Linked DNA regions of Homo sapiens: region 1 is linked to region 2. Evidence: promoter capture Hi-C in 16 types of primary human blood cells and fetal thymus (Javierre and others, 2016). All regions are on one chromosome and are shown on one strand. Each heading gives the region's core, a stretch centred on a gene start or on the middle of the fragment in contact. The rest is flanking DNA. Distances are from core to core; before and after follow the strand shown.

Region 1 (7,675 bases), core at 5,175-7,674, 1.2 Mb before region 2:
GGACATAGGTATGATTTCCCTGATCTTTTTAAAAAGCAGTATTCTTCGCACTGTAGGTAGAAATAATGGGTTCGTCTAAAAGAAAGAGACTCAGAAGTAGGTATATAAAAAGACTCTTAATTCAATTTCCCCCAACCTCCTCTGCTACATTTCACAAGAATAGAGACAGAAGTTTCCCATAAGTAATTCGGAGTCACGTTTACTTAGACAGCCATTGCCATAGTCATTGCTAGATGGGGTGTTGCTACCAACTGGTGTTAATAAAACCTGGGAAATAACTTCATACGATTGGCCTACAGTTTAATAAAGAGATTGATTAATTAGCTTCTATGGAGCACCTGCTAGAGGCCCACACTGGCTGAATTTTCTTATATTTTATCTCACTTTATCTTCTGTCTATAAAGGAAAATTGACTTGCCTACAGTCCCAAAGCAAGTAAGCATTAAAGCTCTTATTCTAACTCAACTGCTGAGATTCTAATTACCTCATCCACTTAACAAATAGTTGAGTCTACCATGTGGCTGCCTTGAGTCTAAGTAGTGGATAATAAAGCGCAAAAGAGTGACAAACAATATAGGCCTTGTCTCTTCCCTTATGGAATTTATTCCATTGAGAATCTTCTTTAGAACTCCCCAAATGGGGGTGTGATGATTGGGGGTGATGCTTCAAACCCCTTTAGAAGCAATTTTGATGGAACTTTTTATTTCCAAACTATCTTAATGGCTTAGACTTCTCCTTCTCTCTTTATAACAATAATAATTCCTTAAATTTTAATGCTTTTTCAGGTTTTGACTTAATATTTTAACCTTAGATATTTCAGTATTCAACCGTAGATATTTTAAAAATATTTTTTCTCTTTCAAGACTCCTTCCGATATTTATTTTAGGTCCATGCAGAAAAGCCTGGGTTTTACAGGACTTGAGTGGGAGGAGATACAGCAGCAGCAGCAGGATTTGGATTCAGGCCTTGCAGCCTCCCAGGCTTGGTGCTGGGTAAATGAGGCCTTTTCTCTCTGCACTGACTCCAGATTTCTCCTTGCTGCTCTGGATCTCAACACATTTATTAACAGAGACTGCAATGCATAAACGGAAGGGTTGCCCATTAACGGAACACAGAAAGTACCTTGAATATTAATTGCCGGTAGAGGAACATGGCAGTCAGGGACAGTTCAATATGGCGGGGGCGGGGGGGTGGGTGTAATGGCTTTTAAAAACTGAACGTACAGCTTAAGTGAATAGACTCCTGTGGTCAATATTAACCAAGGAGATTGATCTAATAAGCATTTCAGAAGGTATTTTGGAAAATAATTCAGAATCCACCCTAAGTCAGCTGCATTTTATTCTTGGAATTTTTCCAGGTTTTCATCCTACCTTGTGTCTAGGAAAAGGTTGGTTTACAATATGGGAGGACTGGTATCTCTTTGGTCAAAGGACCACGTACTTAGCAAGCAGTTATCCCTTCCTGGGATCCCTCTACCAATAAGCAGCAATATTTGGCCAGAGTTCTAGACTTTAAACCAGTCACTTCACCTCACTGAGCCTCGGTTTCTTCATGTCTATATCTGCTATCTCTCTCTCTCTCTATCTAGTCATGCAATAATTAAATTAAGAAGTGAATGCAAAAAGAGTTTTATAAACTTTAGAACCACTGTTTTTTAAAAGCTCTAGAACAGTGGTTCTCAATCAGGGGAATGTTACCCTTCAGGGGACATTTGGCCACGTCTGGAGACATTTTTGACTGTTACAAATGGGAGGTGGTGGTGTTACTGGAATCTAGTGATTAGAGAGAGGCCAGGGAAACTGCTGAATATCTTACAATGCACAGGACAGCACTCCCTCTCCCCCACCACACCCTGCACCAAAGAACTGTCCAGCTCATAATGTCAGTAGTGCTGAGGCTGAAAAACCAGGCTCTGGAATTGTACAGATTTTACAGTTAAGCAGTTATGTGACCTTGAGGGGCACCACATCCTTCTGTTTCCAAATATGTAAGATCAGAACACTGCCTGTCATAGATTACAGGATATTGTGTTTGCTAAATTTGAGAGTATACACACATGTCAAAAGTCAAAAGAAAAACAAGTTAAAAAAGGCTGGATAAATATAATAGAAAGTGATGCTGGTCAGAAAGTCAATTAGTACATTACTGGATAGTAATGTACCAAGCTGACTGAGCCAGTTCTTATGAAACTAGCCACATCGTGTGTGTGTGATGGTCATCCAAAAAGGACAAGCTACACTATCCCCTTCTTTTTGTGTCACCAATCAAATTGCTGCTGTTACTCTTCAAGGTAAGCTAAAGTCCAGCAGAGCTGAAGCATTTTTCTCCTTTAATTCCTGTTTTCTCCTTTTTCCTCCTCTCTTCTCACATTTTCTCCCTCACTTCTTCTGAGTCTGCTCCCACTCACTCTGCTACTAGGAGTGGGGAAAGCCTGTGAACACCTCAGGTTGAGGAACAAAAATAGGAGAGAAAGAATGCTCTAAAATGAGGACAGAAACCTGTCTCCAGGCCTGACCATCTGCAAACTCACTGTTACTCCTGAATATTTTTCATATGACAAGTCTAAGCTAATATTTTGGCCCAAAGCACAAACCTGGTAGACAAGAGGATGATAGGATGTTTGTTGTGGGATTAAAGAGCATGAAAAATATTTCCATACTTTCCTATTGATGTTCTGTTTGATTCACCAAATATTTACATACATGTGTGAGGGGCCATGGTAAGGAGAGTGGACCAGAGGGGATGAAGATAGTTACTGTCCCAAGGGGCTTAGAGCTAGGTGAAGAGTGAGTGGTTGCCCAGCTAATTGTGCAATAATCAGCCAAGACTCAAGTGCTTTGAGGAGGGAGAGAAAGGAGGACTTAACTGGAATTAGGGTCTACAGCAAAGACTTCTGATAAGGGGTGAAAAAAGACATATGCATATACACAGATACACAAAGCCATTTGTATATATCAAATTTATAGTTTTATATTAAATATATATAAATACATACTCATATTTACATATACCATACTCCCTTTCAGTTGAACTACTGTTGAGGGATTAATTTATAAAGGCTTCAAAAGTTGTGGTTAAGATCTTTGGATTTAGTATCAAACAGACCTTGAGGGCACCACCTTGTCCTGCCAACACCTTGATTTTGGCCCAGTGAAACTGATTTGAGGCTTCTGGCCTCCAGAATTTTGAGAGAATAAACTTGTGTTGTTTTAAGGAAAAATAAATTTAGAAAATCTTTAGTGAGGCTATATTATTGGAAGTAGAATGTGGAAGACAATAAGTGATGGATGTTTTTATTTTTAATAATTAAATACATACAATCTTATATCCACATCATAATTTGTATTTATATGATGTAAATGTGTTAAAGAATTCAAGATGAATGTATGAACTTTAGATTCAGAAATATAAAGGGGTGAACTTTGATTCTGACCCCTAGATAGGCTATCTTGCTCAATATTCAGCTCCCTGAGCCTTAACTTCCTTATCTGTAAGATGGGCATAATAGCACCTATCTCATATGAATTAAAAGCTATAATATAACAGAGGGTTCTAGGATGAGTGTTACACACAGTACATTCTCTCTATACATTAGTTTTCTCCTTTTTTATCATTCCATCCTCCCTTCTCATACTTTCATTGGAATTTTGTTGACGCCTCTTCTTTAATCACCAGGCTAATTCAAGCTGGCCACAATGGAGAATAGCACAGAAGTGACAGAGTTTATCCTCTTGGGATTAACAGATGACCCCAATCTTCAGATACCCCTCCTCCTGGCATTTTTATTCATCTACCTCATCACCCTGCTTGGGAATGGGGGAATGATGGTGATCATCCACTCAGACTCCCATCTCCACACTCCAATGTACTTTTTCCTCAGTAACCTCTCCCTTGTAGACTTGGGTTACTCATCAGCTGTAGCCCCCAAAACGGTGGCTGCATTGCGGTCAGGGGACAAGGCCATCTCCTACGATGGATGTGCAGCTCAGTTCTTCTTCTTTGTGGGGTTTGCCACTGTTGAGTGCTACCTCCTGGCCTCCATGGCCTATGATCGCCATGCAGCGGTATGTAGGCCTCTTCATTACACCACCACCATGACAGCAGGTGTGTGTGCCCTCCTTGCTACTGGTTCCTATGTCTCTGGCTTCCTCAATGCCTCTATCCATGCAGCAGGCACCTTCAGACTCTCCTTCTGTGGTTCTAATGAGATTAATCATTTCTTCTGTGACATTCCCCCACTCCTGGCTCTCTCATGCTCTGACACACGCATCAGCAAGTTGGTGGTCTTTGTGGCAGGCTTCAACGTCTTTTTCACCCTCCTGGTCATCCTTATTTCTTACTTCTTCATATGCATCACCATTCAGAGGATGCATTCTGCTGAAGGGCAGAAGAAAGTCTTCTCCACCTGTGCTTCCCATCTCACTGCTTTGTCCATCTTCTATGGCACAATCATCTTCATGTACTTACAGCCCAACTCCAGCCAGTCCGTGGACACAGACAAAATAGCCTCTGTGTTTTACACAGTGGTGATTCCCATGCTGAATCCCTTGATATACAGCCTTAGGAACAAAGAAGTGAAAAGTGCTCTCTGGAAAATACTCAACAAACTTTACCCCCAATATTAAATGTGAATGGGAAGTAGGCAAGCAATTAAGGGATAAACTTTCTCTCACACCTAAATGCCATCATGACTTTTAACGTTTGACTGGTTTCAGTTCTTTCTTCCCCAAGAACAGCGGTTACTTCTGCTATTAGAAGATGTAAAAAGCAGCACGTTGAAAGTCTTACTTAGAAAGATAATCTTATATTTAGTGAACAACAACATGGGACAGTTAAGCTTTTCTTGCTTTAGTTTCTTGACGTGGTTTAAAGCAGAAGATTGAAGCATACAAATGAATGTACCAAATTTTCCTCATCCTGTTTTTAATTGTAAGAATTTTTCATTCACTATTAAACTTGGTGTAAAGATTTCACCTTCATTTTTATCAACTGAACACACAGTATCTTTTTTATTCTTTTGTTCTGCGAGTTTGAAAGTTGGACTTTCTGAGGTAGACAAAGGATGTTTCAATATTTTAAATGATATTTGAGAGAAAGTTGTAATTTAAAGGACAAGGCACTAGATCGAGTCAGGTAGCTGACGATTAAATCTTTCCAACCCCTTACTCTCCCTTCTCTACCCACATTCCTATCCTACTCACTAGTCATGTGCCTTTGTAATTTCCATTCCCTTTTGCTAAATCATTGGGGAAACATTACACCTTGTTATATACAGAAATATGGGAATGCTTTAATAGATGAATTACTTCAACTTTAACCTGACTAAATACAACTTCCTTCGGAGAGCCTACACTATCTTTTATGTTTCTTGTCTCTGTCTAACATAATTACCAAAACTTCCAGAAGGTTTAGAGAAAAAAAGCAGTTTTCCCTAGAGCTATGAAAAAATATATTTGTTTTCTGAATTAAATGCTTGCATTTCTTAGCACCCTTAAGTTTGGTGAATCTATTATGAAGATATATAATAGCTTTCTGGACTGTCTTTGCTTTTACTTTTTCAATAATTCAGCTCACCTCTGGGTCTCCATTGCATTCCGGTGTTCTGTAATTAGATGCTACAAGAATAAAAAAGCCTGCCTGGAAATTTACTTCTTAGGAACAGCACGGTGACGCACAGTGCTAGTACACCTTCAGGTCTTGTTTCATGTGCTAGATGGTGTGAGCAAATGTGTGTGTGTGGGAAGGGAGTGGTGATTAATTTCACTTCTCACGTATCAACTCCTTGATGGTGTTTATAACTACAGTTAATCTAAGTCACCACAATAGATCATGATTTCAAAATCTCCCCAAAAAACCCAACAAATTAATTTTGACCTTATAGATGAAAACCAGAAATCTTGGTTGGCTAACTCAGTTGGCTTAAAATGTCAATTTAGTTTTCAGATTATCAAGCTCCATTATGTACAGGGCAGCCTCTGTCTGAGGAGGATAAATCATAAGTCTTCTGGGAAAAATTGCAAAGAAGGAGTTATGGAACATGAGAAACATGAGAATAGCTTTCTCTGGCACATGGTTGCCATCACCTGAAAAGATCAGGAGCTTCTGAGCCCAAGGCCTAGACAACCTATACCTCCCCCATTCAGCCCCCTCCCTCCCCTCTTCTTTAGCAATGAGGCCTATTCAGCAACACACAGGAAGAACAGCCTTTACAGGCCAGGATCCACTGCATATAGGAATCTTTCTCATTGAAATCTACAGAGCTCAAGAGTATCTGCATTTGGAGAAGAGCCTGGGAAGCAGCTATCCAAGCACTGGGTGCATTCCAATCTCAGGTACACATTTTCCCTACTTGATATAATTGACTTTTTTCCCTCCTCATCCTGCTCCTCCTTCTTTACTTCATTTTATCCTTCTCCTCTTTTTCTTTCCCAACTTCTTTCTATGCCCAGCCCAAGCAGGAACTTTCCTCACCACTAGGCCATTTAGATTTCTATAAAAAAATTAAAGTCTAGAGTCTATATATCATAACCATTACAGTATATATTAAGATGTGTATCTGGGCATGTTTATTTCTTTTATGGTTTTAATTTTTATTTCATTAGTTTTGGGGGTACAGGTTGTTTTTGGTTACATGGATAAGTCCTTTAGTGGTGGTTTCTGAGATTTTAATGTGCCCATCACCCGAGCAGTGTGCCCAATATATAGTCTTTTATTCCTCACCTCCCTCCCAACCTTCCCCCATCGAGACCCCAAAGTCCATTTTATCATTCTTATGGACATATTTTGTTATGCCTCTATACCTCAGTTTAGGCAGGAAAATGTGGGCCTCCTGAGATTTAAGGGCTCAATGTCTACATATTTATATTTTATGTTGAAATCACCTCAAACAAGTGTTCTATCTGACTGTAAATAGGTATAAAAGAGTACTATCAAAAGCTGGATGAAAATTCTAACTGTTCTTATCAATTGTGTGACCTCAAGAAAGTCATTTAGTCTTACTGAACCCAATATACAGGATAAAGTGTGAGGGTAATATGAAATTAAGTATGTGAATGTGCCCATCATAATGAATGTGTATTTCATACCATTGAGATTTCTATACTAGCTCTTTCTTCACTTAGCTCTCCCTGGACTTCTTATTTTGGCTCTTGAGCTGCCTGAGCAAAAATAGGAAGTCCAAGGACTGATAGGTGAAGCTCGTCCCATCCAAATCCTAGCTTTTATTTTCATTCCTTGTTTAACTTCCTGCCCTCCAAGTTCCCAGCTCTACAGCAGACATATTTCAAGCTGACATTACACGGGTATTCATTTATAGAAACTACTCAGAAGGAGATGTCCTGTCGCCAGCAAGACATCAATTCACAGAGTATACGTTACTGCAAGGAGCTCTTCCCTTCCACATAGGAAATCTGTCAAATGGAGACTAAATGCCCATTTGGTTAATAACAACACCCACTTGCTCCCTGCAGGAATTGTCTGATGAATGAGAGACCTTGTGCGTAGGGCCTGCCGCTCAATGCAGTGCAATAAAGGCACAGGGACTTCCTACCTGAAATGTTCAAAAAAGAATGTGAAAATTCATAAATCAGGGCAGTTATTTATATCAGGATAGATTATTCTTTCAAAAATGGATTATGATTGAATTATTCTAAATAGGATGTTCCCTTTGTGCATT
Region 2 (7,093 bases), core at 3,101-5,600:
GCAAGGTGGTTCCCAACAGAAAATTGGGACTCTGCTCTCTTAATCCAGAAGGATTGTAAAAGAATGTCGGGCAGCAAAAAAAACACCCAACAGGAGTCCTCTAGTTCAGCCTGCCACATGCTTATGAAGGTTTATGAAGGTTTAATGAGCAAATACTTGTGAAAGTGCCTTGAAGACTGTCCAGCAGCATACAGGTGTAAGGTAGTTGCATTGTTTGAGGAGTTTCACATATATCAGACAAGACTGTCAATTACAGGGGTAGGCACTGGGTTGGACTGAAGTTGGTTTTCCTCTTTTTGTAGTAACTGATTATCTTTTCATCAGAAGACTGTAGGGGCCAATCCTTTTGTAGTTCATAAACATAATGGTTGGGTGTTACGTGCGTGTGTGAAATGTGCCACCCTCCAGCCTTGTTACGATGTTGACACATTACCCATCTGACATGGAAAAAAAAAGAAGACAAAAAAGACTATAGGGTAGATTAAGGTGATTACTCCGAGGGAAGTGGTGAAGTGGATTTGGGCCATGTTCCAGGCATGAATGAGGCAGTGTTTCTGCCAGTGGTGTCCTGGGGATGGACTAGGACCTGGTTTGGCCATGCCCAGGGAGATCCGCTGAAGCTCATTGATTTGTTTTTCATTCATTAATTCCAATCAAGTAACCAATTGCTGTGGCTGGGTCTGGAGAGGGCATGGCTGAAGCCACCACAGTGAATGGGAGAAAGCAGTGTTGGGGATTGGTGGTGGATACTGTCCTCTGGTCTTCCTCCCTTGCCCCTTTTGGGTGGGTATCTTTGGATTTGTCTTCCTCCTGTCCTGAGGCCGTGGGGTCCTGTCTTCCCTCCTCAAGTCTAAGCCTGGCTTGTTCTCTGGCAGGTTTGACAGCAACGCCTCTGCCAGCTCCTCCAGTAATGAGGGTGACAGTGACCGGGATGAGAAGAAGCGGAAACAGCTCAAAAAGGCCAAGATGGCCAAGGACCGCAAGAGCCGCAAGAAGCCTGTGGAGGTGCAGACTGTAGATGGGAGGGCCTGTGTGTGGTGCAGTGGGTGGGGGGCGTGGGAGGCATTCTCTTTACCTTCTCCTGTCCACCACCAGTAGGACCTGTTCTTCCTTGGGGCTGTTTTTTATAGCCAGTGATTATAGCCTTGAGGGTTATCTTCTTGGAAATTTTTCTCACTAGCCCTGAGATTAATAAGCTTCTGGAAGGTCTGAATTAGGAGATGGGCTTCTGTCCTGGTAAGCTAGGCACTGAATTGCAGAGGGGAAGGAGATACTATCCTTGCCCTTAGGGAGCTCTCGTCTCGCCTGATGCTATTTAGTCCTCCACTTTTTCTCCAAGTTAAGTGATCTAAATAATTTATTTGGGAAAATGTATGGGTTCTGTGGGAAATAGCTGAAGGCATTTGGGTTCTTATGTAGGTGAAGAAGGGCAAAGACCCCAATGCCCCCAAGAGGCCCATGTCTGCATACATGCTGTGGCTCAATGCCAGCCGAGAGAAGATCAAGTCAGACCATCCTGGCATCAGCATCACGGATCTTTCCAAGAAGGCAGGCGAGATCTGGAAGGGAATGTCCAAAGAGAAGAAAGAGGTGAGTAGCAGCAGAGGAGGGGTGATGCCTCTCATGGGCTGGCGAGAGGTGCTGTCTTGGGGTGGCGAGTCTCATGACTGATAGGGGAGCAGTATGAGCCATTGGTGGGACTTTCTGTATCGATTTTGCCTGCATCAGGGGAGAGGGGAGATGGGAGAGGTCTTATTCTTAACTGTTTTTTTCTGTGTGTGAGACAGGAGTGGGATCGCAAGGCTGAGGATGCCAGGAGGGACTATGAAAAAGCCATGAAAGAATATGAAGGGGGCCGAGGCGAGTCTTCTAAGAGGTGAGTGTCGAGAACATGGCCCAGTCACTGATTTTTGTGGCAGACTTTTTTTTTTTTAACAGGCCGAAGTTGAGCATTGGAAAGTTAAAGACAGCAGAGATGCTTCTGACTGCAGTAGGGTAGTGCTTCTCAAACCTGGGTAGGCCATTGCCCAAGTATGGGTGACACAATAGGGCATTCAAGTCACTGGGGAAATATGGCCTCTTTTCCTGGACCATTTTATTTGAAGGTATGGGGGAACGAAAAAAATACTATTATGGAGTGCAGTGCACAGTTTGCATGAACTCTAAAAGATAAAGCAAGAAATATCAAGTAGGTTTTGCACATTGGGCTGCTTTAGGCTGTGCCCTCTGATTCTTCTGGTGTACTCATGATACTCTCCCTTGGTGCCCTCCAGGCTGACGCAGCTATTTACGTTCAGAGTGAAATGGGCTGTGTGGCTGGGATTGGGAAAGGCCTTGTTAAAGCTGGGAGAGGTTTGGTCATGGTGACAGGGGACCTGAAGGCCCAGCTCCTCTTCCCTCTTGCCAATACAGGGACAAGTCAAAGAAGAAGAAGAAAGTAAAGGTAAAGATGGAAAAGAAATCCACGCCCTCTAGGGGCTCATCATCCAAGTCGTCCTCAAGGCAGCTAAGCGAGAGCTTCAAGAGCAAAGAGTTTGTGTCTAGTGATGAGAGCTCTTCGGGAGAGAACAAGAGCAAAAAGAAGAGGAGGAGGAGCGAGGTGCGGCAGGAATGTGGGGCCTGTGGGCTGGGCAGGGTGAGGGGCATGTGTGTCTGTGTGGGGTTGGTCTGTAAGAGTAATGAGTTGGAGTGGATGGTGGAATTCTGAGGTTCTGAAGGGGGGTGCTGTAGTTGGGGGCGGTAGGGAATTGCGGGCCCTTCACTGAAGAGTGGGTGGGGCACCCAGGACTCCAGCTTTTCCCTTAAGACACCTTTGGTTTTCAGGACTCTGAAGAAGAAGAACTAGCCAGTACTCCCCCCAGCTCAGAGGACTCAGCGTCAGGATCCGATGAGTAGAAACGGAGGAAGGTTCTCTTTGCGCTTGCCTTCTCACACCCCCCGACTCCCCACCCATATTTTGGTACCAGTTTCTCCTCATGAAATGCAGTCCCTGGATTCTGTGCCATCTGAACATGCTCTCCTGTTGGTGTGTATGTCACTAGGGCAGTGGGGAGACGTCTTAACTCTGCTGCTTCCCAAGGATGGCTGTTTATAATTTGGGGAGAGATAGGGTGGGAGGCAGGGCAATGCAGGATCCAAATCCTCATCTTACTTTCCCGACCTTAAGGATGTAGCTGCTGCTTGTCCTGTTCAAGTTGCTGGAGCAGGGGTCATGTGAGGCCAGGCCTGTAGCTCCTACCTGGGGCCTATTTCTACTTTCATTTTGTATTTCTGGTCTGTGAAAATGATTTAATAAAGGGAACTGACTTTGGAAACCATGTCCTCATGCTTTCTTTGTAGCCTTGGTGTGTTGCTCCCACTTTTATTGGTGGTGTTTACTGCTCTGGTCAGACTGGGCAGGGCCTTCCTGGCCAGCCGGGAAGCAAGTCTCGAGGTACATCCTGTTCTGTTCCCGGCTGGACGAGCATTGGTTTTCACCCGCCTCTGCCCGGATGGGCCACCTGAGAGTCTAGAAATGAGAGCTGATCTGATTAGGAAGTTTCTCCCAGTTACACTCCATTAGCCAACCAAGCTAGGGGGAGGCAGCTCTTGGCTGCATCCTTACCTATGAGTCAAGGGTCTTCCAAGGCTTTCGATAATGAAATCAGGATTGACTGTCCTTCCCGCAGCCGGGGGAGTGGAAACCTGAGCCTGGAGAGTCGGGGAGGATGAGCGTGTGCGTAGAGTGGTGGTGGTTGCAGCCTGGTGGTGGTGCAACAAAGTACGGAGTTATATGTGAAGCTTTTGTTCTTACGGGAAGAAGGGGGTATACAAACTTCAGTGTAGGGAGGAACCCATGTCTGAGAAGGGGCCTAAAAGGAGATAAAGGTCACTAATGAGGAATGCAGAGCTGCCAGACTTCTTCACGGTGGCTCTAAATCTGAATTGACACAGGAGGGTGGCCACGTTGCGCGCGTTCTCAGCACTCAGGTGGTTGTATCAGGAAGCCGCTTCAGTCAGCCGGCGGCTACCTTCTTGCCGGCGTAGCTCGATGATACTGTGCTCTGTGCAGGCGGCGGAGCCCGGGAGGGGCCGCCAAGGCAGTTTCTCTAGGCAGTCGTCTCGGTGGCCATTTTACCCGAGCGCTCCCGGCTGAATTGCGTCAGTTTCGCCCCGGTCTGAGACTGGGGCGGGCCCCTCATCTGCAAGCCTCATGAATAATTGAGTGCTGGGCCGCGCCTGTTTGCCGACGGTGGGACGAATTCTGCACGGGCTTCCCACTCCCGGGTTCCAACCGGCTCATGCATATTCATGAAGCGCCCTGGGGGCGTGGACCTGGGCGGAGTTGGGGCGGGGCCCCGCCGGGGCTCGCAGTGGCTTCGTCCCGCGGTGACGGCGGCGGCGGCGGCGGTAGCAGCGGCGGCGGCGGCGGGGACTGGCATCGGGGCCCCGAGCCGAGCGGAGCCGGACCCCGGGCGAGCGCGTGAGTGCGCGGGGGCGGTCGGGCGAAGGAGGGGGCGGGGTCCGGGATGGGGCGGGGGAGGGGCATGGAAGGAGTGGGTGCTTTCCAGCCGACACCTCGGGTTGAGGTGGTGGTGGTCGGGGGGTCACCAGGAAAGTTTGCAGGGGCCGAGGGCGCTGGGGACGCTGGAGGCCCGGGGGAAGGTGGCGCGTGTGCGCGGAGGCGGAGGGCGCATGGCTTGGAGCTCGTGCTGGCAGAGCCAGAAGAAAGGGGGGAGGGGGCGAGGGCTTGGGGCGGGGCCGGGGGCGGGCAGAGCCGCTGGAGGGACCCCTGCCTCCCCTTCCTCCGGGCCGCGCTAGCCCCCTCCCCCGGCTCCTTCGGCACGCCCCCAGCCACCCCAGTCCGCCCCCACCTGATCGACGTCTGCAGCCCACCGTCTGTTCGCCGGCTGCTTCACAGCCCGCTCACAGGTCCTCCGCTTCTGCCGCCACCGCAGCCCCCTCCTCCTCCTCCTCTTCGGCTGCCGCCGTCCCTTCTGTGTCCAGAGCTCCCCACTGGGCCCCTCCAGACAGCCCATTGCCCGGGGCTGTTCCATCTTCCCGTTGGCCCTCCCTCTTTCCAGCAGTTTACGTGCTGTCCCTGCCGACCTCTCTAGCCTCGGATCCGGCTGGAGATCCTGGGGTCCATAGGGGCGACCCCGCCTGCGCCGAGTCCCCTCCGGGGCTGGAGCTGCCCAGCCCTTCTGGAGGCCTTATCTGCCAGGGGTCAGCTCGTTTCTACCCTGCTACCCTCTACCCCCTGGTCTCTTGAGGGTGGGGAGTGCTCAGAACCGCTGCGAATCGCAGCTTCTGGCCACAGCCTTGGTGGCCTTGGTCACCTGGGGCCCCTGGCTGGGGTCTCTGAGTTGCTGTGGCCACCTCCGCACCTGGGGACTCTGAGCCCGCCTTCATTGCTGCAGCCCCTCATACCGCAGAGGGGCCCATCAGAACCCCAGGTGAAAGGATTTTTTTGGTTCTGAGCCAATTAATTTCCATCTCCAACCACCCACACTATGTTCCTAGTAATAATGTTCAAGGACAAGGAAACAATCTTGTGTTTTAATTTTATTTTTTCTATCATGTGCCCCTCCCCCCACCACACTTGGCCTGGCTCTGCACAGTTATTCACCCACCCACAGTGGGCAGTCTTCCGTGGTGGTTAACTGACCAATGGGTTGACAGTACTGGGTTTCTCTACTGTCTTCATACCCTCTCCCATCTTTGAAACACCTGGGGCAGGGTCAGCGTTAGGGGAGGGGTGTTGGATTTTGCAGAGGATGAGCACTGGGGGTCCCTTTTAAGGATTTGGTGCTGTCTTCCCAGACCAGCTGGAGTGGGTGACTTTAAGTGAGGCAATGCCCCTTGCAGGTTGGAGAAGTTTGGGTTGTCCTCAGGGCTCTGCATACCAGGTGAGGGAAACTTCCGCCTTGCATGAGAGGTGCAGGGCCCTATCCCCCAGGGTCTCCATGTTTTTGTGGGTGGGAGAGTGCTTCAGGAGTCAGGATGGGAACTGAGGAGGTGGTTGGAGTATCTGAAGAACAGGTGACAGGACTAGGGCCTGGGAGAGTGAAGGAATGGTCTGGGAATGCTGGTAGCCTGGGGTCAGGGAAGAGGAGGAGGTGGTTATCAGGGATGTTAGCTCATTGGTGACACTGAATGGAATCACAGTAATAATAGGCAACATTTGTTGAACACTTATTATGTGCTAGGCATTGTGCTAAGCCTATTTCATGTACTATTTCATGTAAGCCCCCTCAGGGTCTCAATAATCCCATTTTTCAGTTGGAGAAACTGAGGCTTGGAGAAGTCACAGGGCTAGAAAGTGGTAGACCCACCCAGCACTGAATCTTGGTATATCAGATCCTGAAGCTCATGTGACAGGCTTCTACCACCAGGCTGTGCCTCTTGGTTTAATTTCTTCTGTCCCCCTCAGAACTCCTTAAAGCCAACCCTAGGCTGGTGAGTGAAGCCCACATAACCCCTTTTCATACATAGGCTGTGGCTGCTCCACCCTGACTGTCGTGGAAGGTGGAGCCCCAGGGAATTTTCCCCCAAGTCACTCCACCCCCCGGATGTTCTCAAGCCCTGTCCCGTTCTCCCAGCCCAGGCCTGGGCCGGCTCCTCCTTCCTCTTGGCTAGGCCCTGGAAATCCAGTGGGAGGCCATTGCTATGGCAACAGGACTAGGCCCTGGCTTTACCTCATCAAATTCCAAGCTGAAGCCAAGCGATTGAGAAATTAAAGAAAAAAATATATTCCAGATGTTTACTTTTTATTCCTTATTTTTCCGTGTTTGGATGAGACAGTTCTGAGGGAGGGGAGAGAGTGGGGCAGGGATGTGGAAGGAGAACAGGGAGAGGGGGGAGAAGGAACCACTCCCAGCTGCGGGAGGGAGGGAGAGAGGGAAGGAGGGTGAGTGGGAAGGGGGAGGCAGGCAGTGGGGCGGAGCCCAGGTTGGGGAGGAGCGGGTTTTTCCCGTCTCCCGTGAGGTGATTCACAGACAGACTTCATACTTTGCAGCTCTCTAGCTCTGCTTTGAGTAGACACCTCCAGCGGGGCCGTCCTACCCAAGGGGCACTGTGGGGACTGTAAGTGGGGTGTCTTGGAGAGCTTGTC

What was found. The method cuts DNA at HindIII sites, captures the fragments that hold promoters and counts their contacts. A CHiCAGO score of 5 or more calls a contact.
Region 1: a contact is called between a fragment that was not itself captured here and the fragment with the promoter of TNKS1BP1 in region 2, in 2 of 17 cell types (total CD8 T cells and naive CD8 T cells). The highest score is 6.4, in total CD8 T cells.

The regions. Positions count from the first base shown.
Region 1 is chr11:58,504,126-58,511,800 of GRCh38, reverse strand. LOC105369313 (a long non-coding RNA gene) reads left to right here. Exons shown (of 5, transcript XR_007062673.1): 2 at 1-8; 3 at 6,259-6,332. It overlaps OR5B21 (olfactory receptor family 5 subfamily B member 21), which reads left to right and starts at 3,696. Exons shown (of 1, transcript NM_001005218.3): 1 at 3,696-4,994. The coding sequence starts at 3,696. The coding sequence ends at 4,625. The HindIII fragment of the contact is 3,170 bases long and covers 4,840-7,675 here.
Region 2 is chr11:57,322,209-57,329,301 of GRCh38, reverse strand. TNKS1BP1 (tankyrase 1 binding protein 1) reads left to right here and starts at 4,350. Exons shown (of 12, transcript NM_033396.3): 1 at 4,350-4,462. It overlaps SSRP1 (structure specific recognition protein 1), which reads left to right. Exons shown (of 17, transcript NM_003146.3): 13 at 876-1,005; 14 at 1,420-1,590; 15 at 1,788-1,876; 16 at 2,413-2,599; 17 at 2,824-3,314. The coding sequence ends at 2,895. It overlaps LOC124902831 (small nucleolar RNA U13), which reads left to right and starts at 341; the gene lies at 341-443. RefSeq lists enhancers at 3,184-4,057, 4,087-4,136 and a silencer at 4,267-4,546. The HindIII fragment of the contact is 11,807 bases long and covers 3,783-7,093 here.